Linked DNA regions of Homo sapiens: all the other regions are linked to region 2. The links are contacts of gene promoters, found by promoter capture Hi-C in blood cells and fetal thymus (Javierre and others, 2016). All regions are on one chromosome and are shown on one strand. The core of a region is centred on a gene start or on the middle of the fragment in contact, and the rest is flanking DNA. Distances in the headings are between cores, read along the strand shown. Region 1 has its middle 120 kb from the start of MIR944. Region 2 holds the start of TPRG1-AS2 (TPRG1 antisense RNA 2). Region 3 overlaps TP63 (tumor protein p63).

Region 1 (4,374 bases), core at 664-3,163, 710 kb after region 2:
ATGTAGGGTAGAAAGTTTCATGGACTTATGGGCAGAGGAATATGCTGCTGGTAGAGCCCATTGACTTTAGTCTCAACGATGAATTCACGTCAGCTATTTCTGATAGTAGCTACTCCTCTGCTTTTCAGAAGGAAGCTCAGTCCTTCAGGGCTTTCACACTACCCACTTGAATAATACCTCCCTTGCAAGTGAATACAATAAAACTTACTCTTTAACTGGTATTTATTAAGATTTTCACAGCATTCATTAAACTGCTTTCCGAAGGCTATCTCATTCCACTCCACCCCAAAACACCAACTTTCTGAACTCTCATTTTCTCCGAAGGCTCAGTCCTTTAGAACCCAAGAAATCATTCAGTTCAAATGCAACACTTTTCAGCTGAGGACACTGTGATGCAATGAGAGGTTAAGTGGCTCATTCCCACGTATTGGTGGCAGATCAGTCAGGCCAGATCCAGCTCACCTGTCACCTTCTCTCCAACTTTTCCCTACCACTAACCACTCCTTTCCCACTTGCATGACCTTTCCTCCTACCCCTATCACAATCCTCTGCCGTAACATTCACCTTACTTTAAGTTGATCATTTGTTTACATCTGTTTTTTTCCACTTTGAGTTCCTTAAAAGAAGGGATAACATTTTATTCATCTTTAAATGCCTCCCTAAGCCTACAACGGCACGGCCACTCAAAAACTCTCTGTGAAATGAATTCATACATGACCAGGGCTTTACGACATCACCTTCTCTGTGCCTGTTTGTTTTTTCCCATTTACACAATGAAGATGGCATTGACGTGTCTCTCAAGATAATTATGTAGTTACATATGATTGCTACGTGCTTCAAGACCATAAAAAAGCTTTATAAAGCCAACCACGATTACAACCTTTGAAACAATGGAATATACGATTAACAAGTGGAAAGAGATGAGACATACCAGGTAATGCTTATTGTCCATTCCCTATTTCTACCTCCACCCACCACCAGGTAGTAACTCAGAGGTAAAAACATAAACTTGGAATAAGAGAGGAGGGTTTACCTCGGGTCTGGATAAGATTATTAGGACCGATGTCATCACGCTGCCGTCATGCGGGAAGGCACCTAGGTCTGATGAGAGAGGCCCAGGGCAAGATTCCCATATATATAGGTAACACTCAATTCACTGTTGAAATGAGGCTCAAATCAAGAAGGCACGTGGCCTTATCTATTCGAAATTGATTCGTCCTTCAAAAGCAGAAGATATCAGATAATTATAAAAGGGACTGTTAAGGTAGAAAGACTGTCAAACTCTAGGCTACCCTGGCTCTCCTCTGTGGCCATTCTACCAAAATAAAGAGAGGGGGTACAGCATGTCTTATTCACCTTTTGTTCTCCCTTCTCCTAAATGTACCATATAAAATGACTAGAAAACATGTGTCATATGTTGACTAAACGAAGCATTCATTTAGATTTTCCTCCCCAGCAACATGTCTGGAAAAAAAATGATAGGAACATCTTGTTTGGTTATTTTTATTGCGGGCCCTTAATAAGATAGTTGAAGCCAGAGGTGCCTCATTAACCCAACTTTTTACAGCTGATGCCATCCATTGTAGAGTGAAACAGAATCAATAGTCAGATTGTTCCCAACTTGGCTTTGCCCAGCCTCGGAGGTCAGCAGTGGGCACAGAAAACACTGTGAATTACAAGGAGGAGGAGGTAAAGGGGAAGCTCTGACAGAATGAGTCTGCAGCTCCAACCCAGCAGTGAGCTCAATGAGTGGCTGATGTTACTTGTTTTGATGTGTTTGAAGAAATCAACCAGGTTCAGGAGAAAAAAAAAAAAAAAAAAAGTCTATATGCCTCCTGTTGGAAACATCAAATTATCAGGGAGTAGAGGATTTGTGGGTGGGCAGTTGGAACTATGTGAGACGTCATTTCACATCACAGCCTTCTTGGCAGGAGGCAGAGAGGGCTTGTAACACGGACTTGTGGTCTGGAGTTTTTGCCAATGGCTCCTGTTTCCCTAAAGTGCTCTGGATGTGGGAACAGGTCAACATTTTCCCACTTCTCAGCCATACCACTGTCAGTCAGCTCAGAATGTTCAATGCTTTGGCATAAGGAACTGGTGAGGCGGCCCCCATTACCTCCTTTCTTGACGTCAGTGAGGGAGTCATTCCCTGTGGTTCTCTTGTGTGAAATAATTCAGCATTTGTACTTCAATTAAAATTCACAGGTATATATTATTAAATAGCACTGACTCATTCCATGGCTTCTCCTCAGCTGAGGAAGTGCCAAAAATGTTATGATGTCAATGATGAAGAGTGCATTAAAAGTCTTAAGAGTGCGTTAAAACTGAGATTTCCTTGTCAAACAATGTAGGTTCGGGGCTGTGAAGAAAGCACTTCGCCCATCCACAGTATCACTCTGTCCTGTGTCAGATTTTTCTAAAGAAGAAATTTAAGTTCAAGATTCTTTTTGCCTTTGAGGGAGAGAAAAATGATACCTGACTAGAATCCTCTTCCCTTTTGTGAGCTTCATAAAAGCAGTTCAAGGCTCAAGGTATGTCTTTAAAAATAGGGCTGAATCAAATTGAATAATACAACTCGTATTCAATATATCACAGAGGAGAGAAGAGGAAGTATGCCAACATACATCCCTCAGCAGGAAAATAAAAGAGGAGAAAAAGGTTTTCTTGATTTGGTAAAATCAGACTTTTTTATTCACATTTATTATTTTATATTTAATATGCCTAGAAGCACGGCCAGGGGAGCAACAACCCTGGTGCTCTTTTCTCCCTTCTGACCCAAAAGACTGTGCTTCTAGCTCAGACCTGGACACTCTGAGCCACGTGACCCCAGGTAATCACCTCTCTCCACTGCTCTCCATGTCCTCATCTGCAAAATGGACATCACGATCCATGCCCAGAATACCTCCTGGGGTTCCCAGTGTGTGAACATGCTCTGTGTCATAAGCATTCAAAACAATAATATAGGTGAAAATAAAAGCTTTGTGAGCTGCAGACTTTTCACACAAGGGAAGGATCATCACCAAGACCAACGGTAATTCCTCAGATAACACAGATGAGATGTACTATTCATACACATTGGACTATTTAACCTAGGCTGACTCAAGCACATTCAGCACTTCGTGAGAATTAGAAAAGACACCCTTTCTGGAAAGATATAGCCCTGCAGGTCCATAGATTGGTAAGCAAGTACCATCTCTGGGCAAATAGAATAAGACATCCCTTCCACCAGCTGGACAAAGCCCTGTGCCAGGGTTCCAGCCCCCATGTACACTCCCACAGGCATTCTTGCATAACCAAGTTCAACAGTCCTGGCTTTAGCTCTGGCTCTGTTGCTCAAATTCTGTAACCATGGGATCATCTTTACCACCTCTAAGCCTCACTTTCTACCCAAAAAGAAAGATGAAATTGAACTGTGATTTCTACGCCCTCCTTCAGCTGTAAAAGCAACAAATGTCCTAATGGGCTTTTCCATCCTTCTACACAAGGGATTATGTGCCATACGAACTGCAATTTCTAAGCTTCACTTTTTTTTAAGTTGTCTGATGACACTCCCTAAATATTTGAATGAAATTATGTATGGTTTGATGTGGAGCAGATTAAGAAGTAAATGCTTTAGTGTATACATGATGTTTCAGGTGTAAAGCAACATGGTTAACCGGCAAAACAAGAATAACTACCCTGTGTTGTCAGCAAATGGCACAAGATGTGGCTCTAACACAACATCTATTCGGCCTTCACCCACTTTCTGTGGGACTGAATATAAGAATCAGTGATGAAGTCCCTGCCCCTCCCCTAGTGCCCATCGCACCCAGGAAGTGGGAACTTTAAGGAGCCAAACAAAGACTGTTTCTATGTTGATGCCTTGTTGCCAGAAAACAGAAATCAGATCCTCACCCAGATCCTCCAATCAGCAAATCTGAGTGCCAACAAGCTCTTCACAGTGGGAGGACAAATAGCAATCTACCTTTGCAAAGCTCAAGAACTTTTAGGTCTAAATTTGGGTTTACGTTTTTAAAAATCAGGTACACACATAAAAAACCCATTCACGGCCGGGCACAGTAGCTCACACCTGTAATCTCAGCACTTTGGGAGGCCAAGGCGAGTGGATCACCTGAGGTCAGGAGTTCGAGACTAGCCTGGCCAACATAGTGAAACCCCATCTCTACTAAAAATACAAAAATTAGCTGGGCATTATGGCAGGCGTCTGTAATCCCAGCTACTCAGGAGGCCGAGGCAGGAGAATTGCTTGAACCCGGGAGGTGGTGGAGGCTGCAGTGAGCTGAGATCACACCACTTCACTCCAGCCTGGGCGACAGTGAGACTCCGTCTCAAAAACAAAACAAAACAAAACAAAACCATTCACAACTCTCTAAA
Region 2 (4,547 bases), core at 550-3,049:
TCTGCAAATACGACTTCATCATGCTGAGTTGTGTGCAGCTGCAGCGGATTCCTCTGAGCGCTGTCTATCGCATCTGCCTGGGCAAGTTCACCTTCCCTGGGATGTCCCTGGACAAGTGAGTATATATCTTATACTTGAAGAAGTGGTGCAGCAGGGATGGACCTGCAGGGAAAACAAGCCGAAAATTCAGTTTGGCCCTGTAAACTGGGAGAACCCAAGGGAGGATAGTGAAATCATGAAAGTTGAAATCATTAAACTAGAGTTCCTACTCTATGTCAGCCTCCAGGGATACAACTTTAAGTAAATATATTAGTTCGTTTTCACACTGCTCATAAAGACATACCCCAAACTGGGAATACAAAAAGGTTTATTGAACTGACAGTTCCACATGGCTGGGGAGGCCTCAGAATTATGGCGGGAGGGGAAAGTCTCTTCTTATATGGCCGCAGCAAGAGAAAATGAGGAAGAAGGAAAAGTGGAAACCCCTGTTAAACTCATCAAGTCTCGTGAGACTTATTCACTATCAAGAGACTGGCATAGGCAAGACTGGACCCCATGGTTCAATTACCTCCCCCTGGTTCCCTCCCACAACACATGTGAATTCTGGGAGATACAATTCAGGTTGATATTTTGGTGGGGACACAGCCAAACCATGTCAGTAAATTTGTATTTTAGTATGAGGACGTGACAAATAAATAGCTAATGTAAGGAAGAAAGAGCTGTGGGAACATGGGGAAAATGCACTCAACCTAATTTGTGTGTCACGTAATCAGAGAAAACTTTCAGAAGAAACACTTGAGCCAATATTTAATATTGGGCAGGAGTTAGCCAAAGAAGGAGAACCAAAGGGGAAGAACATTCCAAAGCGGTAGCTAAAAAGAGTAATGCCTCTGGGAATTGAAATTATTCTGTAAAGCTCAGTGGATAGAACCAAAATGGGTAGTAGCTCTTCTTATAAAATGTCTCTTGGGATCATTCCTGGAAGTTCAGTGACGTAGGGGTGGTGAGGTGTGTCAACTGTTTCACAGATGTTGACAATTACCAAGAGACTTGGTGAGGTCTACAGAGGAGAATGCTGAATTAGGTAAGTTCCTGTCATAGTCTTCGAGGCATCTGCCTTTACTAAACATTTTAGATCTAAGCAAGAGAAACAACAGTCTTTCTCTAAGACTGAATGTGAGGTCTTCCCATTGAACCGTGAATTCCTTGCGGGCAAATGTTGATTTTGTTGTCCTTTAAGCACCTGGCATTAGGACTAGCACATAGTAGGGTCTGAAATCTTTTCAATATACAGAAAAAAGCACGAGTTCATCAAGTGACTTGCTTTCCTTACACTATGCATACTACATAAAAAACTTATTTTTGCTTACTCTTTTCATGGATGCAAAAAGTGATTAATTTATTAAGTTCATTAGCTTTTAAAACTGTTGATTTTTTTCAATAATAATATTACACATTGTAAAATATATATTTAAATATTACAAAAATGTTCATTTTCAGGAACTCTCTCTTCTACACCAGACCCTCGGTTCTTCAGCCTTCCCTCCATGGGTGATAGTCAACAGTTTCTTGTGTATTTTTAAATAAATAGTCTATAAATATAAAAGAATAAAAAGTTCTGTATTAGTCCATTGTCACGTTGCTGATAAAGATATACCTGAGATTGGGCAATTTACAAAAGAAAAAGATTTATTGGACTTACAGTTCCACGTGGCTGGGAAGGCCTCACAATCATGGCAGAAGGTGAAAGGCACATCTCACACGGTGGCAACAAGAGAAGAACTTGTCCAGGGAAACTCCTGTTTTTAAAACCATCAGACCTAATGAGACTCATTCACTATCACGAGAACAGCGCAGGAAAAACTTGCTCCCATAATTCAATCACCTCCCACCGGGTTCCTCCCACGACACATGGGAATTGTGGGTGTTACAATTCAAGATGAGATTTGGGTGGGGACATAGTCAAACCATATCAAGGTCTCTCTGTGTACATATGCCTATACACGTTTAAAAGTACATATCTACACACATATTTATTACATATTATTTTACCTAATGAAAGCACATGTCATAAACTGTCCTGCCTCATGCTATAATATCTACCAGTGATATAACTTGGAGGTTTATATAATCATCTATAGATCAATCTCAGTGTTTTTTAATAGTGCAGAATATTACCTCTTAAGCTTAATCTATTTAGCCAGTCCCTCATTGATGTATATCTATTTTTACCGTTGCTACTACAAAGTGCTGCTACAAATATCCTTGCTTACAAGACTTTGCACAAACATGTAATTGTTCCTTTAATGTATTAATGGATTTCTAGAAGTGGAATTTTTAGGTCAAAGTCATGTAAATTTTAACCGATGAGTATTGTCAAATTGCCTTCCAAACAGGTGCTACCAATTAATACTTTCACAAAGTATCAGGGTAATCTTTTCCACACACCCACACCAATATCAAGTATTACAAAACCTTTTTACATTGCCAGTGAGATAGTAAAGAAAAGTCTCTTATTTGGGGTTCAAATTGCATCACTAGAATTTGAAGAACGATATGTGTTTTTATCCTTGGGTTAGAAAGCCATATTATTTATTTTTCTGTGAACTGCCTATTTATGACTATAGCCCATTTTTTTTTTCCTGTTGGGATGTTTAATTTTTTTCTTATTGATTTGTAAGAGCTATTTGTGTATTAGAGAACTGAATTCCTTTTCTGTCCTATATGTTGCAAATAAATTTTTCCCAGTTTGTCATATCTCTTTTAACATTATTATGCTATTTTTCATGACCTTTAGTTTTGGGGTATTGATATGGTTTGGTTGTGTCCCCACCAAAATATCAACCTGGACTCTATCTCCCAGAATTTCCACATGTTGTGGGAGGGACCCATGGAGAGGTAATTGAATCATGGGGGCTGGTCTTTCCAGTGCTATTCTTGTGATAATGAATAAGTCTCATGAGATTTGATGAGTTTATTACGGGGTTCTGCTTTTGCTTCTTGCTCATTTTCTCTTGCTGCCACCATGTAAGAAGTGCCTTTTGCTTCCTGCCATGATTCTGAGGTCTTCCCATCCATGTGAAACTGTAAGTCCAATTAAACCTCTTTTTGTTCCCTGTTTGGGGTATGTCTTTATCAGCAGTGTGAAACAAACTAATACAGGTATCAAATTTCTCATTCTTTCAAGGCTTCTAAATTTATGTCTTTTTGAGAAAAGCTTTCTCCATACTATAATTATAAAGTAAATTTCCAAGTTTTTGTCTAGTAATTTTATTTTACTGTTAACAACGAACTTATATTTCATCTAAAATTTGCCTTGAGTAAAGAAGAAGGTATGCAATCAACTTGAATTTTTATCCAGATGGCAGGCTAGATTTCTCGATATCATATATTTGATATTTTATGTTTATTATTTTATAATGTAGTACTTTTCTCTGTGTGTTTCTGTACCTGGATTTTCTATTCCATTCCATTTGTGTCTCTTAAAGCTCAAAATGGTTTTAATTATTATAACCTTATATTATGTGTCAATATCTGGTTGAGTTATTCCCCATTTATTAATCGTTTTTTATTTATGCATATTTATTTTTTAATCAGCTTGTCTAATGTTTGAAAGTCTTATTTTTATTAAGATTTTCAAATATTAAGTCAGTTCTTCATTCCTAAGGTAAACATGTTTGGTTGTGACATATTATTCTTTTTATGCATTAGTGGATTTAGTTTGCTAATATTTTATGGATAATTTTTGTGCCTGTGTTCATGAGGGGTATTAGTCTGTTATTTTCATTTTTTAAAATGTTTTTGCTAGGTTTTCATATTTTGGCTATGCTGCCATCATAAAACAAGTTGGAAAATGTTCCCTCCTCTTTTATTTTTTAAAAGATTTTTTATATGAGTGGAGTTATCTTTTCATTGACTGTTTGATAGAGTTAATAAGGGAAATCTTGGCCTGATCATTTCTTGGTGGGAAATTCTCATAATAAAGTTAATTTCTTTTATAAATATTGTGTTTATCATAATTTTTTCTCCTCAGGAGGCCCTCCCATCACAGGTCCTGAGGCCTAAGAGGACTAATTTTTTTATTTCATATTAATTTTGATAAATTATATTTTTAAAGGAATTTGTTGTTTATTTAAGTTGTTGCAGCTGAAGGCATAAAGTTGTTAATAATATTTCCTTATAATCCCTTTAATGTCCATAAGATATTTAGTGATATCTTCTTTCTTTCCTCATATTGGTGATTTTATTTATTCTCTCATTGGTATAAAGAAATATTTAAGACCAGGTGATTTATAAAGAAAATAAGTTTAATTGGCTTATAGTTCTGCAGGTTATACAGGAAGCATAATGGATTCCACTTCTGTGGAGGCCTTAGGAAATTTCTAATCATGGCAGAAAACAAAGGGGGAGTGAGGCATCTTGCATAGTGGGAGCAGGAGCAAGAGAGAGAGGGGTAGGTGCTACATACTTCTAAGTGACCAGATCTCACTATTGTGAGGACAATACAAAGAGGATGATACCCATTCCTGCTAAATCTGCCCTCATAA
Region 3 (4,584 bases), core at 1,125-3,624, 610 kb after region 2:
ACGTGAATTGATCTGGAATTGCAGACTCGGGAGGGCTTTGATGCTACTCTATCTAGTTGCCTTCCTTGAAGAGGGATTGAGAAGAGAGGTAGGTTATAGAATTAATGATTTTTTTTTGTTCCGTGAGAGTTTATTTCATCCATAGTCTCTAAGATTTAGGGCTCAAGATAGCCATGTGATTTGAGATTTGCATGTAGTATGGCATTTCTTCTGGGAGAGGATGAAAGAGCTAAAGTTCTTGTTTTTTGGTTTTGGTGTAGTAGGCAGGGAGGGTTTTGATTCTACCTTTAGGAAAGGGAGGTGTTGAAAAATTACGCAGGTGTGTGCTGATATTACCTGGCACCTCTATGCATTGTGATACTGAATTACCAGTCTGCCAGCCAAAAGCGTGTAATATAGTATGTCTACTGAGGCAGGTGGTAAAGGTAGGGTCCTAGTCACTGGAATTCTTTTTTTTTCCCCCTTCTCTTTGCAACATATTATTAGTAAAGGAGCTGAATTTACTTGTTTTCCAAAATCCCCTGGAGTTGTTTTATTTGAACATGATATTTGGCTTTAAGCAGCTCACCCCTCGATATTCCAAACTTCCTCCCCTCCCTCCCAAAGCAAAACAAAATTTAGGCAAAGCTTACTTATCCATTTTGACAAGGATATTTTATAAAAAGAAGGAGTTTAGTTCATTTGTTAGTTTTCAGGAACTTCTTTTCCATGTCATTGTTGAAATATTTAGTTCATGTGGATGGCCAAAACTGTCATGTCAGTATACAAGGAAATTTGGTTGAAGATCAGTACAATATTAGGCTCATCATTCTTGCCCATGGGCTGGTGCTTCCTGGGAATGAACAAACTATTGAATATATGTACAGTATGTATACAGAAGAACATATATTAAGTTCTACTTTATATATTTATACATATATGATCAGAAATGGCCAGTAGGGTGTGTGTGTGTGTGTGTGTGTGTGTGTGTGTGTCATCAGAAAGATTACCAACACTTTGTTTTCCACATTCTTTTTTTTTTTTTTTTTTTTTTTTGAGACAGTCTCACTCTATTGCCCAGGCTGTAGTGCAATGGTGTGATCTTGACTCACTGCAACCTCTGCCTCCTGGGTTCAAGCAATTCTCCTGCCTCAGACTTCTGAGTAGCAGAGATTACAGGTGTGCATCACCACACCTAATTTTTATATTTTTAGTAGAGATGGGGTTTCACCATGTTGTCCAGGCTGGTCTCGAACTGCTGACCTTGTGATCCACCCACCTCGGCCTCCCAAAATGCTGGGATTACAGGCATGAGCCACCACGCTTGGCCTTCCACATTCTTTATTAAAGAGTCACTTTGCCAGTGCAAATCTGGTAACTGCGTTCTCTAAGAGATTTGCACCAAATTATAAAATAATCAAATGAGGCCGGACACAGTGTCTCACGCCTATAATCCCAGCACTTCTGGAGATTGAGGCGGGCGGATCACCTGAGGTCAGGAGTTTGAGACCAGCCTGGTCAACATGGTGAAACCCCGTCTTTACCCAAAATACAAAAATTAGCTAGGTGTGGTGGCGGGCGCCTGTAATCCCAGCTACTCAGGAGGCTGAGGCAGGAGAGTCGCTAGAACCTTGGAGGCAGAGGTTGCAGTGAGCTGAGATTGCACCATTGCACTCCAGCCTGGGTGACAGAGCGAAGCTCAGTCTTAGAATAACAAAAATAATCATCATCATCATCATCATTATCATCAAATGGAAGTAACACTATACATTATCTATTTTCCCCTCTATGAATGATTAGCTCAAGATTTGGGGGGATCATGTAAGTTGCCAGTTATTTCTCAGTGAGTGTCAGATATTTATGACTTCTTTGAAGAGGCCAATCGTTTTTGAAAATTATTTCAGATGTGCTTTATTTCCCCCCACCCATCACAGTATTTTATTTCTGATTTCACTTAGATTTGCATAATGCAAAGAGCCACAGTTGCACTGGGGGTCCTTTCTAAATAGGCAACGAGGTTAGTGCAACCCACTGCTGACTTATTGAACCCAGGACCTGATGGAGTAGAGTTGATTCTTAAAGCAATGAGTGGGCATTTTGTGTTGTTTTTATGTTCAAGCTCCCATTGTGAGAATATGGTTACACTTTAGGGAAGAAAACCTCAACTCTTAGACAAACTTCTTTGCTTAACTAAAAATAAGTATATATACTCCTGTAAGAATTTGGTGATCATATTTTTATTTTTGTTAGTAAGATGGCCTCTGAGCTTTACACTTGATTGTCTAATCATATATTTTCTAATCATGTGTTTATTCACTCAAATTCACTCTGGCACGAATACACCAGTTCCACTTTGGCCTCATACTATAACTGTTAAAACTGTGTGGGACGTGGGGAAGAACACTGGTCTGTATGTCAAGATGGTCCCAGTTACTGAGAACTTTTGAGCAAATCTCTTCTCCTTTCTGGGGCTTAGATTCCTCATCGGCGAATAAAGTGGCTGAACCAAATGATCTTTAACTTTGAATTTTCCTGATCTAACTTTTCCTTTTCCTTTTCCTCCCTCTGCCTCCTCCTCCTCCTCCTCCTTCTCTCTCTCTCTCTCTCTCTCTCTCTCTCTGTTGCCTAGGCTGGAGTGCACTGGTCTGAGGATGGCTCACTGTAACCTCAACCTGCTGCACTCAAGTGATCCTCTGCACCTCAGCCTCCTACAGATGCCCCCATACCTGGCTTTTTTTTTTTTAATTTTGTATAGGCAGAGTCTTCTTGTATTGCCCAGACTGGTCTCAAATTCTTGGGTTCAAGCAATACTCCTGCCTAGACCTCCCAAAATGCTGGGATGACAGGCATGAGCCACTGAACTTGGCCCCTGATCTAATGTTCTAAAAAAATCTTAGCAAATGTGTGTTAAACTAAAAATGCTTTGAAATGGGATGACTCAGTAATAGAAACATAGAACCAAGCCCTTGCTTTAAGATGTCAAGTTGGATTTCTACAGAAATTCTGTAATTAGAATATAATATTGTAGTAAAAGCATTATCTTCATAGAACTAAGGAAATCTGAGTTCACTTCTTCATTACCCAAATTTAGTTGTGCAACCTTTAGAAATCATTTTATCAGGGATGCACTCCTGACCCTCTGTGATATCATGAAATACGTATTTGGACTTTGTCCAAGTTTCTTGGCATATAACTCCTAAAATCCTTGGAATTTCCAAAATGCTGCCTTTTTTGTATGCTAATGCTGGCTCATGGGTTCAGAATGGGGGTCTGGTCACTGGAAAGGCAAAGGCACAATTAGAGAGTCAGCCCCACCCCCCAGCCTCCAGGAAGGAGAGAGAGGCTGAAGGTTAAGTTGATCACCACTTGCCAATGGTTTAATCAATCATGGCTAGATAATGAAACCTTCATAAAAACCCAAAAGGACAGGTTTCAGCAAGGTTCAAGATAGTAAAACATGTGGAGAGTTTTAGAGGTTGAAGCCCAGGGAGGGCATGGAAACTCTGCACCTCTCCCCCCATACCACTCCCTAGATGTCTCTTCATCTTCATCCTCTGCAACATCCTTTATAATAAACCAGTAAATGTGTTTCCTTGAATTCTGTAAGCTGCTCCAGCAAATTAATCAAACCCAAATTGGGGTCATGGAAAACCCAATTTGAAGCTGGTTGGTCAGAAGTTCCAGAGGTCTGGATTTGCTCCTGGTTGTGTGTGGAGTCTTGGGAACTGAGTCTTCAACCTGTGCGATATGACAGATCTCCGGGTAGACAGTGTCACAGTTGAATTGGAGGACACCCAGCTTGGTGTCTGCTGCTTGGTGAGTGGTGAAAAACTCCCACACATTTGGCCACAGAAGTCATCTTCTGTGTTGATGATTGTTGCTGTGGTAATGTGAGAGGAGAGGAAAAAACACAGTTTGAGCATTTCCCAAAACATCCTCCAAGCTAAATAGACCCCCATGTTTTACCTTCTCTCCTTTTGCTTTTTTTTCAAGACATGTGTCACAATTTTAGAAATTATTTTTTTTAATGTCAGTACTTCCTTTGGATCAACTCCCTTAGTGTAAGGTTTACCGTTGGTTCCCTAATAGCCAGGACAAGGACTGGCATGAAGCGCGTGCTCAATAAATATTTGCTGAATTAATAAGCTTCACCTCTTTAAGTCTCAGTTTTATATCAGAAAATTAGGAGAAGAAGGTTTGGACAAGAGGTGCTATAATGTTCCTTCTGAGTTCTAACATCTTCTGTATTCTCTGTCTTCTAAAATCATAGGTCTGTAACAAGTTTACAGGTTGGTGCTACTCATAATAATTTATGTATTAAACATTTTAAGTGAGAAATATTTCAAGGTCAGGTGTGGTGGCTCATGCCCTATAATCCGAGTACTTTGACAGGCTGAGGTGGGTGGATCACACTTGAGGTCAGGAGTTTGAGACCAGCCTGACCAACATGGCAGAACGCTGTCTCTACTAAAAATACAAAAATTAGCCAGAAGTGGTGGCACTCGCCTGTAGTCCCAGCTGTTTGGGAGGCTGAGGCAGGTGAATTGCTTGAACCCAGGAGGTGGGTGTTGCAGGGAGCCAAGATCATACCACTTCCCTCCAGCC

What was found. The method cuts DNA at HindIII sites, captures the fragments that hold promoters and counts their contacts. A CHiCAGO score of 5 or more calls a contact.
Region 1: a contact is called between a fragment that was not itself captured here and the fragment with the promoter of TPRG1-AS2 in region 2, in 1 of 17 cell types (M2 macrophages). The highest score is 5.6, in M2 macrophages.
Region 3: a contact is called between a fragment that was not itself captured here and the fragment with the promoter of TPRG1-AS2 in region 2, in 2 of 17 cell types (activated CD4 T cells and naive CD8 T cells). The highest score is 5.5, in activated CD4 T cells.

The regions. Positions count from the first base shown.
Region 1 is chr3:189,951,650-189,956,023 of GRCh38, forward strand. No RefSeq gene overlaps it. Among named protein-coding and RNA genes, the nearest start is that of MIR944, 120 kb to the left of the region's middle. The HindIII fragment of the contact is 2,124 bases long and covers 852-2,975 here.
Region 2 is chr3:189,238,795-189,243,341 of GRCh38, forward strand. TPRG1-AS2 (TPRG1 antisense RNA 2) reads right to left here and starts at 1,800. Exons shown (of 3, transcript NR_046722.1): 1 at 1,703-1,800; 2 at 1,483-1,592; 3 at 1-162. TPRG1 (tumor protein p63 regulated 1) reads left to right here. Exons shown (of 6, transcript NM_198485.4): 4 at 1-115. RefSeq lists an enhancer at 1-882. The HindIII fragment of the contact is 9,051 bases long and covers 1-2,184 here.
Region 3 is chr3:189,845,672-189,850,255 of GRCh38, forward strand. The region is part of intron 4 of TP63 (tumor protein p63); the gene reads left to right. Among named protein-coding and RNA genes, the nearest start is that of MIR944, 18 kb to the left of the region's middle. The HindIII fragment of the contact is 3,498 bases long and covers 626-4,123 here.